Linked DNA regions of Homo sapiens: regions 1, 2, 3 and 4 are each linked to region 5. The links are contacts of gene promoters, found by promoter capture Hi-C in human tissues and cell types (Jung and others, 2019). All regions are on one chromosome and are shown on one strand. Each heading gives the region's core, a stretch centred on a gene start or on the middle of the fragment in contact. The rest is flanking DNA. Distances are from core to core; before and after follow the strand shown.

Region 1 (4,906 bases), core at 1,706-4,205, 150 kb before region 5:
CCGTCTCTACTAAAAATACAAAAATTAGCCGGGCGTGGTGGCAGCCGCCTGTAATCCTAGCTGTTCAGGAGGCTGAGGCAGGAGAATTGCTTGAACCTGGGAGGCGGAACCTGGGAGTAACCTGGGAATTGCTTGAACACGCCACTGCACTCCAGCCTGGGCAACAGAGCGAGACTCCGTCTCAAACAAACAAAAAGAACCACATTAGAGCCATATGAATCCTCATGGATAAATCTTAAAACATAGTGCTGGGTGGAAAATCTATATCACAGAAAGGTGGATGCAGTATAACACTTTTCATATGAGGGCTAAAAACACACCAAGAAAACATGATGGCTGCGCACATATGTAGTGAGGTCTCAGGCTCATGTCACTTCTGCAAAGGGAGAGAGGGACAGAGCATGCCACAGGGCTCCAACTGTATCTATAGTTCTTCATTTATTTCCTTAAAAAGTAAAAGATCTAAGGTAAAGAAACAGGAATGGTGGGTACAGGGTGTTCCTTATACTATTATTATCCTACTCTGTATGCGTGAAATAGCTCCCTTTAAAAAAATAACAGGAGGCCGAGATCGCGCCACTGCACTCCAGCCTGGGCGACAGACGAAGACGCCATCTCAAAAAACAAACAAAACAAACAAAGAAACAAACAGCTGCCTCAAAAACAGAAAAGATGACGAGAAGGAGAGGTCTTAGAACGCATCCTTATCTGAAGGACAGGATACAGTCTTGTTTTAGGAAACTCCAGCTGCTCTGTGTCATTGAAAGGGAAGAGGAGAGACCAGATGGTCCAAGTTCACCAAGGCACTGGGAAGGACCTGAGACTGACTGCAGGCCCTTCATGAAAGCAAAGCCTGGGTGTGTTATAACCGCCAGTCCCACTCTCCCACAGTGAGGTCCATCCCGGCAGGGGCTGAGTCCACCTTGACCACTGAGACAAACAGACCTCGTGATGGACTCAGTGTTTTTAAATTGTGGAGCTTGGACAGGGAGGGGCGAGATGGAGAACGAGGTATACACAAAAGAGAACAATGTGATGAGGGCATGAAGTGTGCTTACCAACCTTCCCTCACCCAGAGGCTGGAAGAGATTTTAGAGCTTAACAGAAAAAGAGTGGGAAAAGGACACTGCTGGGCAAAAGACATGAACTAAAGACTTCTCGGCTGTCCCCATCAGTGGCACGGTGGTCTCAGCAGTACCGATGTGGATACTCAAGAACGTGAGGCTACCGTGGAAATGCTTTGCTTAAACCACACGTGAGTTTCCAAGGAGTGAAGATCCCCAGGGAAAGCATCTAGGACCCTGCCGTGTTGGCCCAGCTCTGGGAAGTCAATCGACGTGGACCCCTTACTGTGTTAACTGCTAATCAGCCTTCTGTAAAAATGATATTGCAAATTCACCTGTAGCCGTCTATTTTGTTCTCTTGCTGGTGAGGAATAGGAACTGATGTAAATTGGTGAAGGTTTACTGGAGCCTGTAAGAAAATATTTTATGAAATTAAAAAAAAAAAAACACAAGAGGCCTGGTGTGGTGGCTCACGCCTGTAATCCTAGCACTTTGGGAGGCCGAGGTGGGTGGATCACGAGGTCAGGAACTCGAGACCAGGCTAATCAACATGGTGAAACCCTGTCTCTACTAAAAATACAAAAATTAGCCGGGCGTGGTGGCCCGTGCCTGTAATCCCAGTTACTCGGGAGGCTGAGGCAGGAGAATCGCTTGAACCTGGGAGGTGGAGGTTGCAGTGAGCCGAGATCGCGCCACTGCATTCCAGCTTGGGCGACAGAGCGAGACTCGGTCTCAACATAAAAAAATAAATAACAAGAAACATCACCTGTCTGCGGAAGGCGTACTGTGCTCTGGCCCTGGGAGCCGGCTAAGGGATGTGGGGCCAGGGTCAGAGTGTGGCAGATGGGCCTCTTCAGACAGGGACCAGCTTCCCCAGGGAGGCCTCCTAGCTGAGCCTGGTAAAAGGATGAAGAACATTCTAGGGGGCCAGGCTGGAGAGCCCAGGAATTGCAGACAGAAGTGAGCCAGGCAGGGGCACTCCACATGTGTGTGGGTGCGAGTGTATAATAAATAATGGCTGCAGGGTGAGCCCCAGTTCTGCTAAGGCAGGAGGCAGGGGAATGACTCTTACGGCTTCAGGGGTCTGAAGAGGGGCAGGGGGATGGGAGGCTGGTGATCCTAGTTCAGCAGTGGCAAAGCCGGTGTCTGAGGGAGCCTGGTGGGGGGGTGACCCTGGGTTTCTGCCTCCAGCCCTTTGAGAAGCATGGGCTTTGCGTGTCCTGTCTCTTGGGGTCACACGTGGGAGTTACTGAAGTGAAGGCCCAGGCACATCCGCCTAACAGGGGCGGGGCAGCTGCAGTCCCGCCCACGGCCACCGGGGGCGGTGTGTATGGTTCTCCGCACAAGCCGAGGAGCTGAAGAGCACGGGGAGGATGAAATCTTGCCCGCTCTGCTCTGGCCGTCTGGGTGCAGCTGCGTCCTCCTGGAGGCAGGAAGGGGCACCAGGCGGGCTAGCGTGCCACAGACCCACAGGTGAATGGGCCCACAGCCCAAGTCCTCACCAATGCTCTCCTAAGCAAAGGGAAAGTATCCAGGGAACCTCGGGGTGTTGTTAGGGTTAATGTTTACGAAAGGCTTCGAAGAGGGGCCGGGCGCGGTGGCTCACACCTGTAATCCCAGCACTTTGGGAGGCCGAGGCAGGCGGATCACCTGAGGTCAGCAGTTCGAGACCAGCCTGGCCAACATGGTGAAACCCCGTCTCTACTAAAAATACAAAAATTAGCCGGGCATGGTGGTGGGAATCCGTAATCTCAGCTACTAGGGAGCCTGAGGCAGGAGAATCACCTGAACCCGGGAGGCGGAGGTTGCAGTGAGCCGAGATTGCACCACTGCACTCCAGCCTGGGTGACAGAGCAAAACTCCGTCTCAAAAAAACAAACACCAAACAAACAAAACACCACAAGAATACCAAGGGCTGCATCCCCAAACCAGTAAATCAGTAATGCTAGGATGGATCCCAGGCAATCAGAATTTTTTTTTTTTTTTTTTTTTTTTTTTTTGGTTGTTGTTGTTTGGGACAGTCTTGCTCTGTCACCCAGGATGGAGTGCAGTGGCACAATCTCTACTCACTGCAACCTCCGCCTCCTGGGTTCAAGCGACTCTCCTGCCTCAGACTCCCAAGTAGCTGGGATTACAGGCGCCCACCACCACACCCGGTTATTTTGTGTTTTTAGTAGAGACGGGGTTTCACCATGTTGGCCAGGCTGGTCTCGAACTCCTGACCTCGGGTGATCCGCCAGCCTCGGCCTCCCAAAGTGCTGGGATTACAGGGATGATCTGCCGCACCCGACCTCAGAATTTTTTTTAAAAGCCCCCAAGTGAGCCCAATGTGCTCCCTAAGGTTAAAAACTCAAGGCTGAAAACTACCAATCTGACAATTCTGTTGCAATGCTGCTTGAAAACAAAGATAACTGTGTCTACTGAGCTGACAGGACAGCAACAGAGTTCCTCCTCCTGCAGTTTCAAACACCCAAACTACGAATATGCCATTTCTGCCATTTGACTTGGCAAATGCCTTCTGTGTAGTAGGACAGGGTGACGATAACTCACGTCTTTGGAGTCATGGAGGGATCCCTTGTGTACAGAAACTGCCTTTGTGGTGCTGTACAACATTATCAATTCTATTTGAGCTGAGGCTAAATTTTAGTTTCGTCCCTCAATTATTTATTCCTCAATGAATGGTGAAACCCAGGAGGTGGGGGCGATTGTGGGGGCGGATGGGTCAGGAAAGAGATGTCTGGTGACTTCAAAAACCATCACTAAGGCTGCTGCATAACCAATTCCACAAATGACCACCATGCAGCACTCATCTCTCGCCAGGCCATTGGGCAAATTTATTACTCCCCCTAAGTCCCAAACACACCATTTTACCCTCCCTGGTAATTTGTGTATGCATACTGAACAAGCCAAGCAGGCCAAGTGGGCTGTGTGCACACACTTCTGGGTACAGAAGGAGACACAGAGGCGGAGGTCAAGTGCCTTTTAACAGGCACAAGTGTGGGGAAGCTGACTACATTTCCTGAAGTTTATTGTTTTATAAAGTGTGTTCCACTTCCATAACCATCAGCAATTACCCCTGGCAAGGGCAATTCTACCCTGTCCCTCCACCAGTGCTTCTGGCAGCTCCTTTCACGGGTCACTGTTCATCTGTTCCTCCTATCTCACCTCCACCCCAATTCCAGCCTAATGATCAGCACATATTTCTGTTGGACCAAACTTCAGTCTGTAACTAAACAGCACAGCTGGCCTCAATGCACCTCATTACTGTACAGAGAAGATTCCAAAAGGAGCTAGGAAGGAGGGCCGGGCTGGATAATGAAACTTTTTATATCTGAATTGCACAAATCCCCACCAAGTAATTTCAGCATAAAGCAAACCAAATGGCAGACGAAATGATGTTAGTACCTTGTAGTTTACTTCATAATACATAACCTCTAATCCATGTCCATCTTCTTGTTTCTGCTTTTAATTCTGCCATTTCCTCTTAAAATTTAGGGTTTAACAAAGACAACAGGGCTGTTTGCCAAATCGCAGCTATTAATTCACAGCATAGAAAAGTCAAAGCTATAGCAAAAAATTGCTAATCTGCACAACTTTAAAAAATAGTTCAGTACATTTTTGTTATAAAATTCATTTACAGGAGGTTATTCACATGTACTTGTCAAATTTACTCCTGATAATTCACAAAAACATACAACTCAACAAACTGTGCACAATAAATCCAAGGCAAATTATATACAAAGAAACAAAACAAGCTTTTAAGTAGCACATATTCATTTGAAATAACTAATATTGAAAGAAGACAGGGAACTTTCTTTTAATGCCATGGCAAAGACGAAGCG
Region 2 (4,775 bases), core at 2,097-4,596, 190 kb after region 5:
AAGTTTCAAAATATGCAAAATTTCAGTCAAAATATGCTCCCCAGCATAAGCTCCAGCACTTCAACGATGGCTCCTGCTACCGCTAAGGCAAAATAAAGAACCAGCATCTTACTGGAGTGACTGATACACTAATTGCCTACAGAAGCGGTGCGGGCTGCGGGAGCATCTTCCAGGCACCAGCGCTCAGGCAGTGCGCCCGTGCTCCCAGGCTGCCATCCACCCAACAGAGCAGAAGCCCACACCCACAAATGCAGCCTACACAACAGGCAGACACCCAGACACCACCGGGGCCACTTCTACAGCTCCTCCAGACCTGTCCCTTCACAAACACCGTGGGTCTGGGGTGGAGGAAGGCAACCACTGGTGCGTACATTGCGCCACTGAATAGGAACAGGAGGGCCCACGTGGTGGAAGAGGACGCCGTTCGAAAGCACCTTTTGGAGATGGGTCCTACGTGCCTTCAGTTATCATCACCACCTTTCCTGGCTATTTCATCATGTTAGTCAATGTCCTTTTGACCTGGGATGCAAAGCCAGCAGTCCACTCACTCAGAGGTTCCGGTGGTCAGCAAGCAGGCAGAGGGTGGCATTTTCTAGCCCAGACCTCTTCCTTAGGTGGGAGAAGCTCAGGCCAACCCTGCAGGGGTTTCACCTGCTGTCATGACAGCCACCTCAACAAAACCCATTCATCCCTTGGCCAGCTCCCTGTCTCCTTTTCCTTTGTTCCAAGGCCCAATGCTGAAAAGGCGAAGTACAGATGGGAAGATGAAATGCTCTAAACCCAAGCATGCGATGGGCACTCAATTTCTCCTTCTGCCAAGCTGCAGTGCTCCCAGGAACCTGCCAACTTTCTCGCCCTCCTTGCCCTCCAAATACCCGCACCCCTCTCCAATGGCCTTCCTGAGCATCCACCATAGTAATCCTGTAGTTACCAAGCAACAGATCAGTTTATCTAACCACAGGGAACTCCCTTGTAGTGAAGGCTGAATAAACCCCCCCTCAGTTACCAGGCTGGATTACTCAGCAAGACAGGCAGATGCCACTTGCACCACCAATAAGGTGAAATCACAGCCTAATTAGTAAATCAATATACCCCGTTACAATGACCACTGGAGAAGAGAGATCGCAGGGCCTTCTCCCAACTTTATCATTACATTCTCACAATGATCTTCCTAGGTAAAAACCCATTCTAATTCAGGCTTTTGCTAATGGCACTCTTTTATAGGACAGAAGTTTAAATTTTATTTATGTACCGTTAAGGCTATCAATAGTTTCTTCCATGTTTTATGGCTTTAGGGTCATGTTTGGGAAAGTCTTCATTCTAGGATTTCAAAAATATTAAAGTATATTTTCATCTAGCTTGCTACTGCTTTAATTCCATCTAAGTTTTATTTTGATTAATAGAAAAATGAACTGTTTCTTCCTAAGAGTTATCCAGTTATCCACAACGGTCACTGAACAGTAACTCTTTTCCCCAAGGTCTTGAAACGCTCCTCTAGAGCACTTCCTGCAGGCTCTGTGTGAAAAGCAGTGATGACCACAATGGCGCCCTTCATGGGCTCTACAAATAGATGAAAACATTGAAGCGAATACCAATTACATGGGTTGTTAATGGATTTAAATGTAAAACAGGTAAAATCAAAGCCATCCAAACCGACTACATGACATAGGCATTTAACTTACTCACTTTTCCAACCACCGCCTGAAACAGGTACTACTAGTATCCCCACTTCCTGGTAAGGAAACTGAGGCACAGAGAGATTAGGTCATTTGTCCAGGGCCAAAAATCAGTAATGCAAGAGCTGGAATTTGAACTCAGGAAATCTGACTTCACAGAGTTTAACCATAGCAGTCTGTCACCATGCTACAGTTTTCAAAACAAGGGGCAAGTTCCTGGCATAAAATGTTTTTAATATACATAAATCTGTATGCCTGTATGTATACGTGCAAAGTCTGAAGGATATAGGAAATGTATCAGGGTTAACCTGAATGTAGGCTTATGGTTAATTTTTGAGCTTTTCCCTATGTCCTGTAGTTTTACAATGAGCATGCATTATTTTTATAATTAGAAAATAACAGTATATTCACTCTAAGGGGAAACAAAAGCAAATGGTAGAATTTTGTCCTATAGTGAAATGCCAGAGTATTTTAATTTCTACTCATCAGAAACCTGTCTGCCTTTTGGCTTTGAGTTGGTTTGATTTTGCGAGGGTGTAGTACAATTAAAACATAGACAGACAGACAGACAGGGGTTCTTCAGAATGAGGACTAGTCAAGTGCACTCCTCTAATCTGAACGAGGCTGCTTATAAGCACATGTTCCAGGGCCACGGCTAGGCCCTGAAGGTCTCTGCTGACGACGCAAGTCCCCCACATGGGAAGAAAAGCCTGGGCTCTCAGTGAACGCAGGAGACCGTGAGGACTTCAGGTGGCCCGGGACTGACTATAAGTCTCTACACTTGTGCCTGACTCTATGGAGGACAAAAAGGCAGCAATGTCTGGGTAGGGTTTTGGTGGCTCTCAGGTCACAGTGAGGGTAACAGGCAACTCCAGGGGAATGTGACAAGCGGGCCCTCCGTATGCTTGTACACAGAGGAGCTGAGGGAAAGAATAAGCTGGTGTGGGATGTCATGACAACTTGACCTTGGCATGGGCCAACCCAAGGAGGATGCTACCCTACCTTTTATGGTCAGTGAGGAAAAGGAACTGTATCTAGACTCTTTCAACCTCTGGGTTCTGTTCTGGTAGAGAAGTATGCTGGCAGACCAGCTGTTTTAGGGATGCCTTCTTTGTGATTTCTTAGGATCCAATCAAGTCTAGCTTTTGTAAAACTACCAGAGCCCCAGAAGACACTCGGCTCCAGTTGAGTCCTGCTGTGGCAGTGGGAATCATGGGAATCACAGCAGCATTCCTAGGAGGGGTTCTGTGGACACAGAGGCTGGTGAAAAGTGGACTTCAGCTTTGTGCCAAAGATCAAGATCTAGTGAAGCTCAGAACTCCGAGCCCTGGGCCAAGGACAGGCACAGTGGCAGGCAGCACAGACCACAACTGAGAAAAACCGCGGATGGCCCGGCACACTTGCTGCCTGGAAGGCCATGCACATGATGGGAAAGAGGAGAGATCATATTTAGATATGGCCGATGTTTGAAAATGAAGGGCTTCACCAGAGCCCCAGAAATGGATGGGAACTTTGAGACTATTTAGCCCAGGTGACCAAAACTCTTAGGAAGTTCTGTCAGAACATAAGCAGGAACTTCAGATGGCAGGTGGCAGTGCTGGGGACGGGCAGAGGACCAGAATTTGATGACCTTGGTTGGAATCCCAGTTCTGCCACTCGCCTAGCTGATGACCTTGTAGAGTCACAGCAGCTTTCTCCAAGCTTCGTTTCCCGGTACATCAGAAAGGACCTATGCACAGGCACATGGCCAGTATGAAGGTAAAACAGCCTACAGTGCGTTAGAGAGCTCGGTACATTTTAATTCTGTGAAAGCCTTATGAATTACTGTTAAGATGGAGAATACAGGGTGAACATGGCAGCAGTGAGTTGTGCTTGGAACTGTTATGATTACACACTGAAAATACTGACTGAGAAGGACCAGCTTGAGGCAGAATCCCAGCCCCACACCCCAGAGCGCAGCCCTCTGGGCCTGTCCTGTTTGACACTGTGGGTGAACTGGATGAAATCATGAGGCATGTCTACCACATCTGCAGGAACAGCTAATACACTGGCTGACAAAATAACAACAGTCTAGGAGACCAAAGGGATGGGCCTACGCTGGCAAGGTGAGCTTGAACTGGGACAGATGTCAGGTCTTGCTGTTAGAAGGTAGGGTGGCATAACTGTCACATATGCAAATGGACAGGGATTCAGTTGGCAAGTTTCAACCTGAAACCAGAGGTCTGGGTTCGAATCGCGGCTCTGCCCAGTGGACAGTGGTGCCATCATGGGCAGTTTCCTCCTCTGTAAAACAGGGATAACATCATGATTGAAGTGAGGACCACAATGGCCATCCATCATGGGGGCCAGTGCCTGGCCACTGCTGAGCATCCATCAGTGGAGCCGCCATCCCTGCCATTATCATCCCCTGCACTAACAGACGTGATTGCCCCATACTTCTTGCTGGGCAGTTTCCATTGTAAGTCTGGATACTTTCACGAACCAGACTTTGAAAAGAACCTGGGCAGATAGGATGGGTGGAGCCGAGCCATCCAGAGGACAGGCTGCAACAGTACAGACCAAAATGCAGCTGGGCCTTCGTACAGCCTGAGACAGGCACACCAGAAACAAGCCCCTCTGAGCAGGGGTCCTGGCACAACCTCATACAGGCTGTAGAACTGATTCTGGAAGTTCGGCCAAGGTACTTATTTCTCTAAGTCCCACGTTATTCACTTACAACGATTAATGAGCTAACACTCTATTCAGCACACAGCCTGTTAGGAAAGTACTCAGTAAATGCTGACTAGTGTTATTATTAACAGCACGAAAAAGAGAAAAGGGGAGGAGACAGGAGTCATCCTCAGATATGTGGCATATTGTCATGTGAACTAAGGCCTGGTCTGATCAATAACATCACTTCTATGTTTGCAAATCATGTACACACAGCGTTTGAATCTCACAGAGGCCAAACAATGGAAATAAGACCAAAGGGTGGAAAATGAAAGTAGTGAATTCTGGCTCATTCTCAGAAGCTCTAATGGCAAGCCAGGTCCATGAATGGACAGCCCTGGGGGCTGCAAGGCACTGGGACGCCAGGGGTGCTGAAGCACAGGCCACAGC
Region 3 (5,250 bases), core at 88-2,587, 130 kb before region 5:
ATTTATTTAAAGTGAAATGTTACTTTTAGTCTTGCTAGAACAAGAATTCAGATGAACAAGTCATGGAACTAAAAGGTAAAGACCTGGCAAGTTTCTTAGTCAATTCCACTGCCAAGGAGAATGTTGACATTCCAACTGCCAGGAAGTAACCTGTCTACCCAGGAGCCACACAGCACAAGTCTATGAAAGCCAGCAGCATCCCAGCTTCCTCGTGCCGTATCACCAATTTGCACAGACCACTCCTTAAGAGTTTCCCTTTTCTTCTTTCCTTCTATATCCTCTCATTCTAATTCAACAAGAAAATTGGAAATATTTATAAAAATGCCTCACCCTTTTCTATCGAACTCTTTGTCCAAATCCTTCTGAATCATCGTCTTCTGGGCCTTGTAATGAGTTATTATGCCAATGTTTCGAAAACTAACATCCTTTCTTTTGTCTTTAATAAGCTTAATTATTTCCATCACCAGTTTTATTTCTTGAACATTTATATATGAGCTAAACAAGATGGAAAAAGAAAACACAGTGTTATCAAAACTAATAGCAGGCTAATTGCTAACTTAAGTTCCACTGAGTTTGTTTCCCATTATAGTAAAGGGCAGGCAGATAGGCTTCATCTTTTATTCAGCTAGCAGTGACTCCAAGAGGCTGTTACAATGACCATTAATATGGTATATATGAATAAATGTGAAAATACTATGGTAAATATGAATACATGTGAAATGCCCAGTGAAAAATGAAGTTGTAGAGAGAAAAGAGTTTGAAATCAACTGAAGTTTAGGCACCACTTTCTTCATCTGTTGAAACAGGGAGAGCAGTATTAAGAACAGCAGTATTAATAAGAACAAAGATGTGAATAAGAGATAGCTAACATGAATTAAGGATTAACTATCTTCCGAACACTGAGAAAATGCTTTACATGTATGATCTTCCTTGTCCCTCACCACTGGCTGCATACAACACACACCACACAACCGAGCAGCTGCCATCCACACAGACTCAATGTGAAGGATGTGTCCCACTTGACCCCAGTTGAACAACATGGGGCCCTGGAGCAGGTTCATGTCCTCTTTGTAGTCCTCAGCAGCCTCATATCCTGCACTCTCAACCCCTCCTGAAAACACATGCTCCCTCATGACCATACCGGACCCAAAATGCACCAAGACCAGGGGATGCACTGCCCCATCCCTTGATTCCTGAGGCTACCTTACCCGCCTTGCTTTACGAGCCTTAAATACCCATTCTCCTAACTTTGAGACTTACTAAATGGACAACCCAATCAGCTAGCGATCTCTTCCATCCCTGAAATCCTCATGATGCTCTGCGGCTTAACTCGCAATCCTCTGCTCTCCTCCAAGAGGCCTCATTAAAACCTTTAGGCTGCAGTCCCTCCAGCACTACAATCCCATGGCCAACAACTCCTCTGTATGTGTAACCTCTTCAATGAGTGTTCCCTACTTCCACCTCTGTATCTTATCTAACGCCTGATTCTCGCCTGAGGACGCCACCTGCTCTGCAGCCATCCCATGATGTAGAAGTGGGATTTGTGTTTCCTCCTACTTCATGACAGAGTGGCACTTGTATCCGTGCCAACAAATGCTGCCCCTAGACCATTCCTCCCCTACTCTCTCACAAGAATCCCCAGCTCCTCTGACATTGCTGCTTCTAGCAACACCACTCCTCTTTGCTGTCATATACAGACCACCTGAACACATGCCCTTATTCACAACCCAATACCATCCAACCTCTGTCACTACTTCCTTCCTCCCTTTCACATTTTCATTCAACTGAATTTATACTTAGCCTTCACAGTACTTAACCCAACTGGAATAACTGCTTACCCAGGTGATGACCTGCTGAAGGCCTGTCTTCCCATGAGACCACCATCTTGCAATGGGCACGTCTGTTTCCCTCACTGCTGTGAGCTCAACAAGTATCTACTCAAGCACTTGCTTATGACATTAGGTAATATTATCCCCATTATACAGAAAAAAGAAGCATCAACTTAAGTGAACATGACTGTGCCCTGACACTAGGCAGAGAGATGTGTATAGGAAATGTATTTAACAGAAATATGAATGCAAATCATGTAACAATTCTGGGACTATCAGAGGACTGAGGCAAGAGGAAAACATACTCATTATCCCGTCTTTCTGAACCATCTCCAACATCAAACACAAGGTATGGCTGAAATGGCCAATCTGATGAACATCGAATGGCTTCTGTCTGTCTGTAAAAAAAAAAAAGCAGTCAACATTCAGAATAAAGTCAAGATTTAAGAAAATATCTTGGTATTACTACAATTTTTTCTGTGTGGTGATGTGGGCTGGGGCAAGTAAGGGGATAGCAGGAATATTCTTTTCTAGACGTGTATTAGTGAAAGGTACAAAACAAATTCTATTTCTTTCCTGGTGCTGGGAGAGGTGTCTATATCATTAAAATATAACAAGTATGATTGGAAAGACACTCATAATAGAGTAAGCCACAGAATACTATGTTAAGTATGGTCCCACATTTTTCCTTCAAAAATTTAAAAAGTAAAAAAAGATATGCATAGTAAAAGGACTGAAACTTGGCCAGGTGCGGTGACTCTCGCCTGTAATCCCAGCACTTTGGGAGACCAAGGCGGGTGGATTGCTTGAGCTCAGGAGTTCGAAAGCAGCCTGGGCAACATAGCGAAACCCCGTTTCTACAAAAAGAAAAATACAAAAATTAGCCAGGCATGGTGGTGACTGAGTGTAGTCCCAGCTACTCAGGAGGCTGAGGCAGGTGGATTGATTGAGCCTGGGAGGTCGAAGCTGCAGTGAGCCAGGACTGTGTGCCACTGCACTCATCCTGTGTGAGTGACAGAATGAGACCCTGTCTTCAAAAAAAAAAAAAAAAAAAAAAAGGACTGCTGAAAGTGGATATACCAAAATGTTACCAGTGATTATTTCTGGGTAGTATAAATATAGGTGACTTTTTCCCCTTTTCTTTTTTATGTGCTTTGCTGTATTCAACATGATGGCTATTATAACAGGACAAAATTATTAACCCTTCATGATTTATGCTTTTTATGACAAGACCTAAGACGACAGTAAAATGTCTATTCTTCATAAGTAGCTAAACTACAACAAAATAAGGTCACAAACAATAAGGGGAACTCACCTATTTGTTTTTAAGTTTCTGTTATAAACATAATTAGAAGGGAAGAGGCATATGTCTGGATGCATCCTGTACTGAACAGTGAGCTGTAGAATGGGCAGCCTGCTGATCATGTTGTGTTCTACATTCTCTTCCAGCAGTCTGCAGAAGCGAGCCATCATTGACTGGTCGTAGCCATACTCCTGTGCTTTCTGTGAGGGGCAAAATAAAGCAACAGTTTCCAAGAATTCATTTATATCTTTCCCACTATTATAAACACAATTACTGAGATCTAATACGTATATGGCAACGTTCAGGTAGCATAAGATTACCAACCACAGCTTCAGAGAAAAAAGGTGTTTCTGACTCTGAGCCTCAAAATGCCATGAATCTTTTTTTTTTTTTTTTTTTTTTTTTTTTTTTTTTGGAGACACAGTCTCGCTCTGTCACCCAGGCTGGAGTGCAGTGGCGTGATCTCAGCTCACTGCATCCTTCACCTCCCAGGTTCAAGCGATTCTCATGTCTCTGGCCTCCTGAGTAGCTGGGATAACAGGAATGAGCCACCACACCTGGCCAAAATGCCATGAATCTTGAATATATGTGGAGGTCTTTTCTACTCATATACTGCTAATGAAAGAGATATGATCTTGTGAAAGACAACTGATGCTATTTTGATGCTACAAGACGCCACCCAAAAAAACCAGTAATAAAGGAAATGTAACACAGATTTTAACAATTATTTCTGGGGGTACACCCTCACAGACAGACATATTGAATGCCACTGTAAACAAGCCTTTTGAAGACAAAATTCTTCATTCATCCATCTAATATGTACTAAGCATCTATAATTTGAAGTGCTAAGACCACTAGAGTGAATAAGATGAAGTCTCACAGGACTTAATTTCCAGTGAAGGAAACAGACTCGACTTATGTGTTGACCATCCCTAATCCAAAAATCCAAAATACTCCAATGAGCATATCCTTCGAGCGTGAACTTTAAGCATAAAGTCAGCACTTGGGAAGTTTCAGATGGTGAAGCATTTCAAATTTTTGAATTAGGAACGCCGAAGCTGTGCTAAATGGATTTCACAAACCAAATAATGGGTTATATTCTGCAATCTGAAAAACAGTGACCTAAGTGACAAGTGGGATAAACTGTCTTGATGTTACCACAGTTGTGCCTTGGGATCTACTTTCCGATGGCAGCAACACAGAAAGTTTCAAAAAGGGGAGGGGGAGGGATAGCATTAGGAGATACACCTAATGTAAATGACGAGTTAATGGGTGCAGCACACCAACATGGCACATGTATACATATGTAACAAACCTGCATGTTGTGAACATGTACCCTAGAACTTAAAGTATAATTAAAAAAGAAAAGTTTCAAAAAGTACTTTATCTTAAATAACCCTGAAGTAAAAATGTGCTGAAAACTTCACTAAGATGATGGAATCTTCATGAGTGATGTGAAAGATACTGGCACTGAAGACGTGCAAAGCCTGAATAAACTTGTTTCACAAACTATGGGAGTGGAAGAAAGGCATTACTTCTTAACCTATTTATATGTGTGATTTTAAACAGGTTTGTGAAAGCATAAAATAATTATTAATAGATACATGCCAATTTTCCCTAAATCCTCAAAAGTTTATCTGCGTTAGCTCACAAAACCTAATTTTTAATCTTTTCTTTGGGGAAACAGAAAAGGAAGTTATGTAAGGTAACGCATCTACCTCCAGACAAAACCTTAGTCCATTCTACAAATGACATAGATTTATTAATATATATTCTGACATGGGAGGATGTCCCTGATTTACTGATTGAAAAAAAAACCAATTCTGCACAGAATGATTTTGCCACCTTTAAACAAAACCAAACCCACGTACATATACACATAAACATATACATGTATACAAACCATATACCACTTTTTAGTAACTGACTCACTGTTAACCCCTAGAATACAAACACCATAAGGGCAGGGATTTTGTCTGTTTTCTTCACTGTCATAACCCCAGCCCCTAAACAGTGCCTGAATTATGGTGGCACTCAATATATACATACTGAAAAAGACGAATAAACACACAAATGCCTAGCAATATCTGTTAAAAATACTCACTTTCACTGTAATTA
Region 4 (4,672 bases), core at 1,110-3,609, 170 kb before region 5:
CCCCCTGCATCAGAATCACCTGGGGAGACTGTGGGAATTCTAACTCCAGGGCCCTCTCCAGTTGAGCATCTCTAAGGACAGAAAGCTCCAGAAACTGCTCTATTAGTAACCTACCCTTGCGGTTCTCCGGTAAGTTTTGCACTGGAGTTGCAAAACTTACCAGTGGCCCTTCCCTCTCTGGGCAACTGGAGGGGACACTGACCCTTCCTGGCTCCAAAGAGCTGTGACTCTGGCAGGTGGCAGGCACTCAGTGGCAGAGGCCACTGAGCATCTGTCTGGGGCTGGTGTGTGGGGGGGTCCCCCTCCATAGCTCCTTTCCAGAAAGGTGGAGGAGCAGCCTATCCCTCCTCCTGCAGGGGCCCAGTTGGGGGCCAAAAGATCGCCTTGCTGCGTGCATTTGTGCAAGTCCCTTCCCGTTCCTGGGCCTCAGCTTCCTCATTCATCAAATTGGGAGGCAGATCAGATCAAAGGTTTTCAGCTCTTTTTTGTGGCTGAAGCTTTTCTTCAAATGCTTTACCAGCCCAGGTCCAGCTATAAAGCTGCTCTTCACCCCTGGTGGGCACCCAGTCTGCTTTCTTCCAAGTTCTACTCAAGGACTGGCTTTTGGGTAGAGAAGGAAGTCCATCAGGGCCCTGGGCCTGGGCAAAGACCAAAGCCATGACCGCCAACCAAAACGCACCAGCCTGGAATGGTTGCCCCTGTCGTCAGTAGAGGCCAGGTCTCGGCCTCAGGGGCTGTCCCCCAACCCTGCCCAGCCAGGCCCCTTGGGACACCATCACCCATCCCCCACCCAGCAGGAGGCTCTGGCTGCCCAGAGGAGGGGCTCCTGCAAAGCTGGAGCTGTCGGTCTGAATTCTGGCGGCAGCCTTCAGATAATTCCATCAACTCTAAGTGATCAAAGCCGCTGACGTCACAGGGGGCCAGCTGCAGGGACAGGGCAGGGCCTTTGGATCCAATTAGAGGTGCCCACACCCTGGCACCCTCCTCCTCTCCCTGGCTCTCCCTGCCTCCACCCCGAGAGCCAGCACTGAGCTGCAAGGTTTCTCAGGGTGGACGATATTCACCCTCTCCCACAGAGCCCCAAGGCAACCAACTGGGCCCACCCCGGGAGCAGGAATAGGCTGTTCCTCCACTCCCCTGCAAAGGAGCTATGGAGGGGGGCCACCCCACAACACAGCAGCCCCAGACATGCTCAGTGGCCTCTGCTGAGTTTCTGCCACCTGTCGGAGTCATAGCTCTTTGGAGATGGGAAGGACAGCGACCCCTCTAGTTGCCCAGAGAGGGGAAGGGGCTGACCCAGGCCACACCAGTGCCAGGGCGGGGAAGGTGGGGCTGGGACGTGTTTGATCCCAAGGAAGGAAGCCAGAGTCTTCTCTCCAGGCCTGGCCACCCTGGGAAGTCCCCACCTGCCGTCCAGCCGCGGGCTCACGTGGACCCAGTGTGGGGAGCATCCCCTGGGGAGTGTGGAGATGCTCCCTGCGAGGCCGGGAGAGTGGGGGTCCGAGAAGACGGCGCCCACACGTAGCCCTGACCGCGCGCCCGTGCCCGTGTCCGTCCAGAGTGTAACTGCAACCAGATAGGCTCCGTGCACGACCGGTGCAACGAGACCGGCTTCTGCGAGTGCCGCGAGGGCGCGGCGGGCCCCAAGTGCGACGACTGCCTCCCCACGCACTACTGGCGCCAGGGCTGCTACCGTGAGTGCGCGCCGTCCCCCGTGGGCGGGGCCTGCGGAAAGGGGACGGGGCAGGACCGAGGCAGTGGGCGGGGCCTAGTGGGACGGGGCAGGGGCGGTGGACTGGGCCTAGCAAGACGGGGCAGGGCCGGGGAAGTGGGTGGGGCCTAGTGGGACGGGGAAGAGGCGGTGGGCGGGGCCTCGCGAGACGGGGCAGGGCCGGGGCAGTGGGTGGGGCCTAGTGAGAGCGGGGCAGGGTTGGGATAGTTGGCAGGGGCCTGGTGAGATGGGGCCGACCCGGGGGCGGTGGACGGGGCCTAGCGAGACGGAGCTGGCAGGTGGGCGGGGACAGGATGCTGCTGAGGTCCGGGGCCGGGCCGAGGGGCGGGTCCAAGAGCTCGGGGCGGGGCCTGATGCGACCTGAGGCACGGTGGTGCCTGGTGGGAACTACGAGAAAGACCGAGCTGGGGTTGGTTGGAAAGGTATTTGCGGGGACAGAGGGAGGGAGGCTGTCCAAGTCGGCGTTAGCCGCGGGCACAGGGTGAAAGGAGGCTCCAGGCGCGTGGAACAGCACGTGCACAGCTCTGGAGACTGCAGGCGCGTCTGAAGAACAGCACCGAGGCCAGTGGGGCGGGGAGAGAGGGGCAGCGGTGGGAGGCAGCCGGGGGCCAGATCTCGCCCGGGCGCCGTCACCCTCCGAGGGGGGACGTTTCGCACCCAGCGCGCCTGGAGCCTCCTACATCCCCGGCCCAGACGGCGCCCCCGGGATCTCGCACACCCTGCTTCGCAGGAGCTCGGAGGTTGGCGGGGGGACCGGGCCACCCCCCGTGCTGACCGCCCCCTCCGCCTGCAGCCAACGTGTGCGACGACGACCAGCTGCTGTGCCAGAACGGAGGCACCTGCCTGCAGAACCAGCGCTGCGCCTGCCCGCGCGGCTACACCGGCGTGCGCTGCGAGCAGCCCCGCTGCGACCCCGCCGACGATGACGGCGGTCTGGACTGCGACCGCGCGCCCGGGGCCGCCCCGCGCCCCGCCACCCTGCTCGGCTGCCTGCTGCTGCTGGGGCTGGCCGCCCGCCTGGGCCGCTGAGCCCCGCCCGGAGGACGCTCCCCGCACCCGGAGGCCGGGGGTCCCGGGGTCCCGGGGCGGGGCCGGCGTCCGAGGCCGGGCGGTGAGAAGGGTGCGGCCCGAGGTGCTCCCAGGTGCTACTCAGCAGGGCCCCCCGCCCGGCCCGCGCTCCCGCCCGCACTGCCCTCCCCCCGCAGCAGGGGCGCCTTGGGACTCCGGTCCCCGCGCCTGCGATTTGGTTTCGTTTTTCTTTTGTATTATCCGCCGCCCAGTTCCTTTTTTGTCTTTCTCTCTCTCTCTTTTTTTTTTTTTTTTTCTGGCGGTGAGCCAGAGGGTCGGGAGAAACGCTGCTCGCCCCACACCCCGTCCTGCCTCCCACCACACTTACACACACGGGACTGTGGCCGACACCCCCTGGCCTGTGCCAGGCTCACGGGCGGCGGCGGACCCCGACCTCCAGTTGCCTACAATTCCAGTCGCTGACTTGGTCCTGTTTTCTATTCTTTATTTTTCCTGCAACCCACCAGACCCCAGGCCTCACCGGAGGCCCGGTGACCACGGAACTCACCGTCTGGGGGAGGAGGAGAGAAGGAAGGGGTGGGGGGCCTGGAAACTTCGTTCTGTAGAGAACTATTTTTGTTTGTATTCACTGTCCCCTGCAAGGGGGACGGGGCGGGAGCACTGGTCACCGCGGGGGCCGATGGTGGAGAATCCGAGGAGTAAAGAGTTTGCTCACTGCTGCCTCCACGGCCTGTTTTCTTTCTGTGTTGGGGACGGTGGGCAGGTGTGGGGCTTACAGAGGAATCCACAACACAGCCTTAAAGAAACGGTTTCCCTACTGGGGCCACCATTTCCCTGGGCCTTTCTGTGGATTCCAGCAGGCAGTGCCCCCTCCCCGCAGGCTTGGCTGGCAGAGTTTTCCACCCCGCGGCCAGGCTGCAGGTGCCCCACCTGTTAGGAGCCTCCCCACACTGAAAGGCTGCCTCCCTCCTTTCCCAAAAAAGAAATCCGGAGTGTATTGGCCCTTTTCTACAGAAGTCCAAGGGAAATGACTCAGGGAGAATCCTAGCAGAGGTTGAATCCAATGCTCTGATTTATACTGTGTCTCGGTGGCCACCTCCGATGGATGTGTCATCTCAGACCTGTTGCAGCCGGAGCCTCAAGTCCAATATCAGATGAAGCTGAACCCACAATTCGGCCACCGCCTCCTTCCAGAGTTTCAGATGGCCAGGTGGGCAGAGGCGGGCAGTGCAGAGACCCCAGACGTGCCGGCCCTGTCCTCCCTACCTTCTCAAGATTAGGAAGGGGTGCTGGAGGGGACAGGGGCAGCTTGGGAGTGGTGAGGAAGCTCCTAGATTCGGGGCTCATCCCCTGGGGCCTCTGATTCAGAGGATCCAGCAGTTCTCCCATCTCCGCTTGGTGTCTCCAGCCCTGGGGCCACACTTCCCCCTCGGTCCAGCCTCCTGTCCACCTATGTTTATTTCAGAGCAGTGCCGGGGGTCCGGTCCTGGTTGCTAACTGCTGCCACTGCTCCACCTGCAGGTGCTCCCAGCACTGGCTTCTGCCACCACACCTGTTCTTTCCCAGCTGCGAGGTTTAGACCTGGGTCCTTCCCTTGAGTCCCCAAAGCTAAGCTAAGACCAAGTGGAACAAACTTGGCCTTGGGGACAGCAGGAGATTACAACACAGAAAAGGAGGGGGAGGCACAACGGGACACTGCATAGGACTCACAGTGTCCCGAGCCCACACACCAGCCCCTCCTGGCCTCCTCTCTCTGCTCCCACCCCCAGCACCCTGCTGACCCGGAAGTGCCTTCCGACAGGCCCTGCATCCTCCTGCAGCTGGCCCATCTCTACCCTCACATTCTTCCTTACGCACAGAACCCCACTGCCTGGGACCCAAAGTGCCCAGATAAAATAAAACACCTCTCTG
Region 5 (4,614 bases), core at 2,084-4,583:
CACCCTCCTTGCCTCCTGCCATCCTTCAGAGCTTGGTTTGAAGATCAGTTCTTCAAAAAGTTTTCCCTGATTCCTTGGGCTTGGCCTGATTCCCAAGTAATATACTTTCATATTTAAAAAAGAAACATTTATTTAGTCATTTACAGGCTGTCTTCTCTGCTTTAAAAAAAAAAGACAAAGAAAAAAGAAAACAAGGAAGAAAAAGATGGTTTATCTGTCTTGTTCCCCTCTGTGTTTGTACCATGGAGAAGCCATTAGACTCCATTCGAGTGCAGGATCCACAAAAGGGCTTCGCAGTGGGGATATCAGGTATCCACTGACCTCAAACCAGAAGTTGGCCTCTTTGTGAAAGAAGTTGGATATGCCTTGTTAGTGTCCAACAAAGAGCGGACGTTCTGCGATACACTGGAATAAATTTCACAAGCCACTAACGTTAATACTCACATACAGGGTGTGTGCACTTGGAATTAAAATACAGAAATATAAATGCACTTTCCAAAAGAGATGATTAAAAATATAATTTTGCAAACATGTCTTATTGTTCTCTTTGCTCTGTATTGCTTCTGGGTTTCATTTTTTTAGATTTATCTTTGGCTAAATGACACATTTACGTCGTACAAAAATAAAAATGATCTTCATATTTCCTCTCCTTTTTTACACAGAAGGTTAACATCTATATATTGTGATCTGCATTTGCTATTTTCACCTAACAACATAGATCCTGGAGCTCTCTCTATATCAGCGGTCTTTAAAGTCTCAATGCTAAGCACATTTTCTACAGAAGCTACCTAATTTATCCGGGGTAGTAAATATCAGCTGTATTAGACAAGGAATATGTTACTCCCCCAAGTCTAACACACCTACTTGCACTGCCACATCCTCTCTCTCTCTGTCTCGCTGCAACAAAGGAAGTGTCCCTTCTGTCAAAGGCTATTTCCTTCCGTTATAGGAAGGAAAATGTGTGCTGGCTCCCAACCCTCTCCTGCCTTCTCAGAGAGATGGTGGTCTCTCCGTATCTTCTCTCTCATCTCTCTCCTGTATCTTCAGCCTGCGTTTTCTAGCAAAATGCCAACAATATTTAATCTCCTCTAACTTAAAAAAAAAATGCAACTGTCGTTTAACCCTAAAGTCTCATCCAGCTGTTCTCTTTCTTCCCCTTCACAGCAACATTTCCTGAAAGAGAAATCACTCTTTCCATTACCTCACCTTTCATCCACTTATTAACCCACATCCTGGTAGCTCCCACCCCACTACTCCACTGAGACCGTTCCAGCAAGAGTGCCTTTGTTCTTAAAGCCACAAATTTCAACAGACACTTTTCAGGCCCATCTTTTAGGACCTCTTAATAAATCACAAACAGAGCAAAGCCGATTATTTCTTTTTTTTCTTTTTTTTTTGAGACGGAGTCTTGCTCTGTCGCCCAGGCTGGAGTGCAGTGGCGTGATCTCAGCTCACTGCAAGCTCTGCCTCCCGGGTTCACGCCATTCTCCTGCCTCAGCCTCCCGAGTAGCTGGGACTACAGGTGCCCGCCACGACGCCAGGCTAATTTTTTTGTATTTTTTAGTAGAGACGGAGTTTCACCGTGTTAGCCAGGATGGTCTCGATCTCCTGACCTTGTGATCCAACCGCCTCGGCCTCCCAAAGTGCTGGGATTACAGGCGTGAGCCACCCACTGGCTGATTTCTTTTCTTTTCTTTTTTTCTTTTTCTTTTTTTGGAGACAGAATCTCGTTCTGTCACCCAGGCTGGAGTGCAGTGGCACGATCTCGGCTCACTGCAACCTCCGCCTCCCGGGTTCAAGCGATTCTCCTGCCTCAGCCTCCGGAGTAGTAGCTGGGATTACAGGCGCAAGCCACCAAGCCTGGCTAATCTTTGTATTTTTAGTAGAGACGGGGTTTCGCCATGTTGGCCAGGCTGGTCTTGAACTCCTGACCTCAGGTGACCCACCTGCCTCGGCCTCTCAAAGCGCTGGGATTACAGGCGTAAGCCACAGCGCCCGGCCTTGATTTCTTTAAATAACATTTCCCCTTCCATCAGTTCCTTTCCTTCTTTTTTGTAAATACTTCCTAGGCTGCTCTCTGGTCTCTGGAGCCCAGTACAACCTTCTAAATATATAGTCTCTCCCTGCTAAAAACTTTTTAGGGTTCCCCTGTTATTCTTAAGATAAAGTCAAAATCCTCACAGACCTGCAAGAGTCTTCATTTCTTCATAATCTAGCCTAGAGATGGACAGAGGTAAGTCCATGCCCACCTCTCTACCTCTCACTTCTCTCTAGGTTTCAGAAACCCTGCTGTTTTCAGTTCCTAGAATACACTACCTTCCTTTTCGTCTCAGGAACTTTGCAAAAACAGCCCATTCCATCAGGAAAGCTCTTCCTCCGCATTACCTTTCTGCCCTTTAACTGGTCCAAGTATGAAAGCCACTTTCTCAAGAGGACCTCTCTAACTCCTTAGCCGGTCTCATCTTTCTGGTTAACAGTGTTTCCCAACAACCAGCTGCTCCCCATTGCACTTTTGGCAGTTATAATATGATCGGCTTCTTGAGGGCTGGAATCCTGGCCATCTTGCTCCCAAATGGCTCCCCAGTCAGTGCTCGATACATATTGAGAACGGATATGCATTTATCCCCCCTTACTCAGAACATACACTTCCCGCTCTGCAGGTACGTGCCCAAACCTGGTCCCGGATTCTCTCACCGCCTTTGGGGTGCGAGAGAGACCCCGCTCTGCTCCCGGGTGGGCGCTCCAGGGCTGAGACTGGAGGAACTAACCAGATGTGAATTCTGCATCTTCTCACTCCCAAAGACCCAAGCCGCGGCCGGGCGCGGTGGCTCACGCTTGTCATCCCAGCACTTTGAGAGGCCGAGGCGGGTGGATCACCTGAAGTCAGGAGTTCGAGACCAGCCTGGCCAACATGGTGAAACCCTGTCTCTACTAAAAATACAAAAATTAGCTAGGCTTGGTGGCGGGCGCCTATAATCCCAGCTACTCGGGAGGCTGAGGCAGGAGAATCGCTTGAACCCAGGAAGCGGAGGTTGCAGTGAGCCGAGATCGCGCCACCGCACTCCAGCCTGGGCGACAAGAGCAAAACTCCATCTTTAAAAAAAAAAAAAAAAAACACCCAAGCCTCAGTTTCCCCGAGATAAGGCCTGGGGCAAAGACCGCGGCCTGGAGACCTCAGGCCAAAAGGCGGGTCTCCCAGAAGACGGGGAAACCCACCACCCCACGCTGAGTTTTTACGCGCGCATTTTGAAAAACAGAAACAACAAAGGCGCTTTCAACTTACCCTCCGAAAGCGCCGCCACCTTTCTCCCAACCCGGAAGTGCTGCTGTTGAGGAAGCGGAAGTAGTAGTGCGTCGCCTTCCGGCCCCCTCGGCGTCACGCTGCCATGGTAACACGGCTGCCGCTAGGCCTTGGAGGCGCGCACATTTGCCTACCCATTTTCCTTCTGGGTCCTTTAGACGTCAGGTGGGGTAGAGAGTGCTCCTGAAACGAAGAAAGTAGGACAGAATCCCCCTCCATTGACGTACTAATGCATGCGTGCATTCCATTTATTCCAGTTTTTGGTGAACTCCAGGAACAACTTGGGAAGACAGATGACAAATCAACTAAGATAATTTCAGATTATCTTGTAAGGAAAATAAAACAGGGTGACGTGATGGAGAGTGACTAGGGGACGGTGGGTGCTACTTTAGATGTAAGAGAGGGCTCACTGAGGAGGTGACATTTGAACTGAGTTCTAAATGGAAAGGGCAGGCAAAAAATCTAGGCAGAAGAGTGTTCCAGGCTGGAAGTGAGTGCAAAAGTCCTGAACTTGGTTGCTGGAGGACCTGGGACAAGGCCAGAGCAGCTGGAGCACAGAGTGAATCCACACAGTGAACCCACAGGGTGACAGACAGGTCGCACACGCCCAGCCTAAGTGAATGCATGTGAATGCAGGGGAGGGGGTGGGAGAGGAAGTCAGAGGTCTGCAGGGGCTATCTGGTGCAGAGGCTGATGGATGTTAAGCTTGGATGAAGTCTCAGAAGTTTAGAGTTAGCAGGAGCTTTGGAGATCTATCCCAGTCTTCCCATTTCAACAGAGTCCTGAAGAGACTTAGCCAAAAGGGCAGCTTTAACCTGGCCATCAATTCGAGGCCATTATATTTACCAACCAAACGTTTAACCTTTTTGGATAGTGAACATATACGATATAGGCAACAAGTTTTCTCACTTAATCCTTGTAATGAGGTATTATTAGCCCCACCTTGTGGATGAGAAACCTGGGTTTACAGTAACTTGTCCAAGGTGACTTAAATGGGCCAGCCAGAAATCAGACCTATGCTCTTTCTACTACTCCACTATCTTGCCCCTCACTGTTCCACCTGACTTCTATGTGATCTGCCAAGTGGCTTTGATTAAAAAATGCACAAACTATGCTTCCGTGAAAGTCTGGAAGGGAAGCAGGTTGGAGAAACGATGAGCCTATGTATGTACTCATGTTGCCATGCAAGGGCTGCTCTGGGATGTGGACGTGCAGTTGGAGCTCCGTCTGGAGAAGTCTGTAAATGTGGTGTTGTCCACTGTTGATATGGAAGGCCTTGAAGTCCAGGTCCGTCATTGGTGTCACGTGTTCTG

The links. Contacts are between HindIII fragments. The study calls those that stand out against the background at their distance.
Region 1: a fragment that was not itself captured here is called in contact with the fragment with the promoter of TTF1 in region 5 in 1 of the 25 tissues and cell types used here (lymphoblastoid cells).
Region 2: a fragment that was not itself captured here is called in contact with the fragment with the promoter of TTF1 in region 5 in 2 of the 25 tissues and cell types used here (spleen and thymus).
Region 3: a contact is called between a fragment that was not itself captured here and the fragment with the promoter of TTF1 in region 5, in 2 of the 25 tissues and cell types used here (bladder and heart right ventricle).
Region 4: a fragment that was not itself captured here is called in contact with the fragment with the promoter of TTF1 in region 5 in 1 of the 25 tissues and cell types used here (lymphoblastoid cells).

What each region holds. Positions count from the first base shown.
Region 1 is chr9:132,256,983-132,261,888 of GRCh38, forward strand. It overlaps SETX (senataxin), which reads right to left. Exons shown (of 26, transcript NM_015046.7): 26 at 4,374-4,906. Among named protein-coding and RNA genes, the nearest start is that of SETX, 96 kb to the right of the region's middle. The HindIII fragment of the contact is 4,266 bases long and covers 823-4,906 here.
Region 2 is chr9:132,597,491-132,602,265 of GRCh38, forward strand. All of the region lies in intron 19 of DDX31 (DEAD-box helicase 31), which reads right to left. Among named protein-coding and RNA genes, the nearest start is that of BARHL1, 17 kb to the left of the region's middle. The HindIII fragment of the contact is 4,533 bases long and covers 1,081-4,775 here.
Region 3 is chr9:132,274,926-132,280,175 of GRCh38, forward strand. SETX (senataxin) reads right to left here. Exons shown (of 26, transcript NM_015046.7): 21 at 3,145-3,332; 22 at 2,135-2,227; 23 at 331-495. Among named protein-coding and RNA genes, the nearest start is that of SETX, 77 kb to the right of the region's middle. The HindIII fragment of the contact is 3,482 bases long and covers 1-3,078 here.
Region 4 is chr9:132,239,351-132,244,022 of GRCh38, forward strand. It overlaps NTNG2 (netrin G2), which reads left to right. Exons shown (of 8, transcript NM_032536.4): 7 at 1,560-1,694; 8 at 2,526-4,672. The coding sequence ends at 2,761. Among named protein-coding and RNA genes, the nearest start is that of NTNG2, 80 kb to the left of the region's middle. RefSeq lists an enhancer at 374-891 and silencers at 1,680-2,169, 2,320-2,369, 2,840-2,909. The HindIII fragment of the contact is 6,383 bases long and covers 1-4,672 here.
Region 5 is chr9:132,403,507-132,408,120 of GRCh38, forward strand. It overlaps TTF1 (transcription termination factor 1), which reads right to left and starts at 3,334. Exons shown (of 11, transcript NM_007344.4): 1 at 3,284-3,334. The HindIII fragment of the contact is 7,318 bases long and covers 1-4,391 here.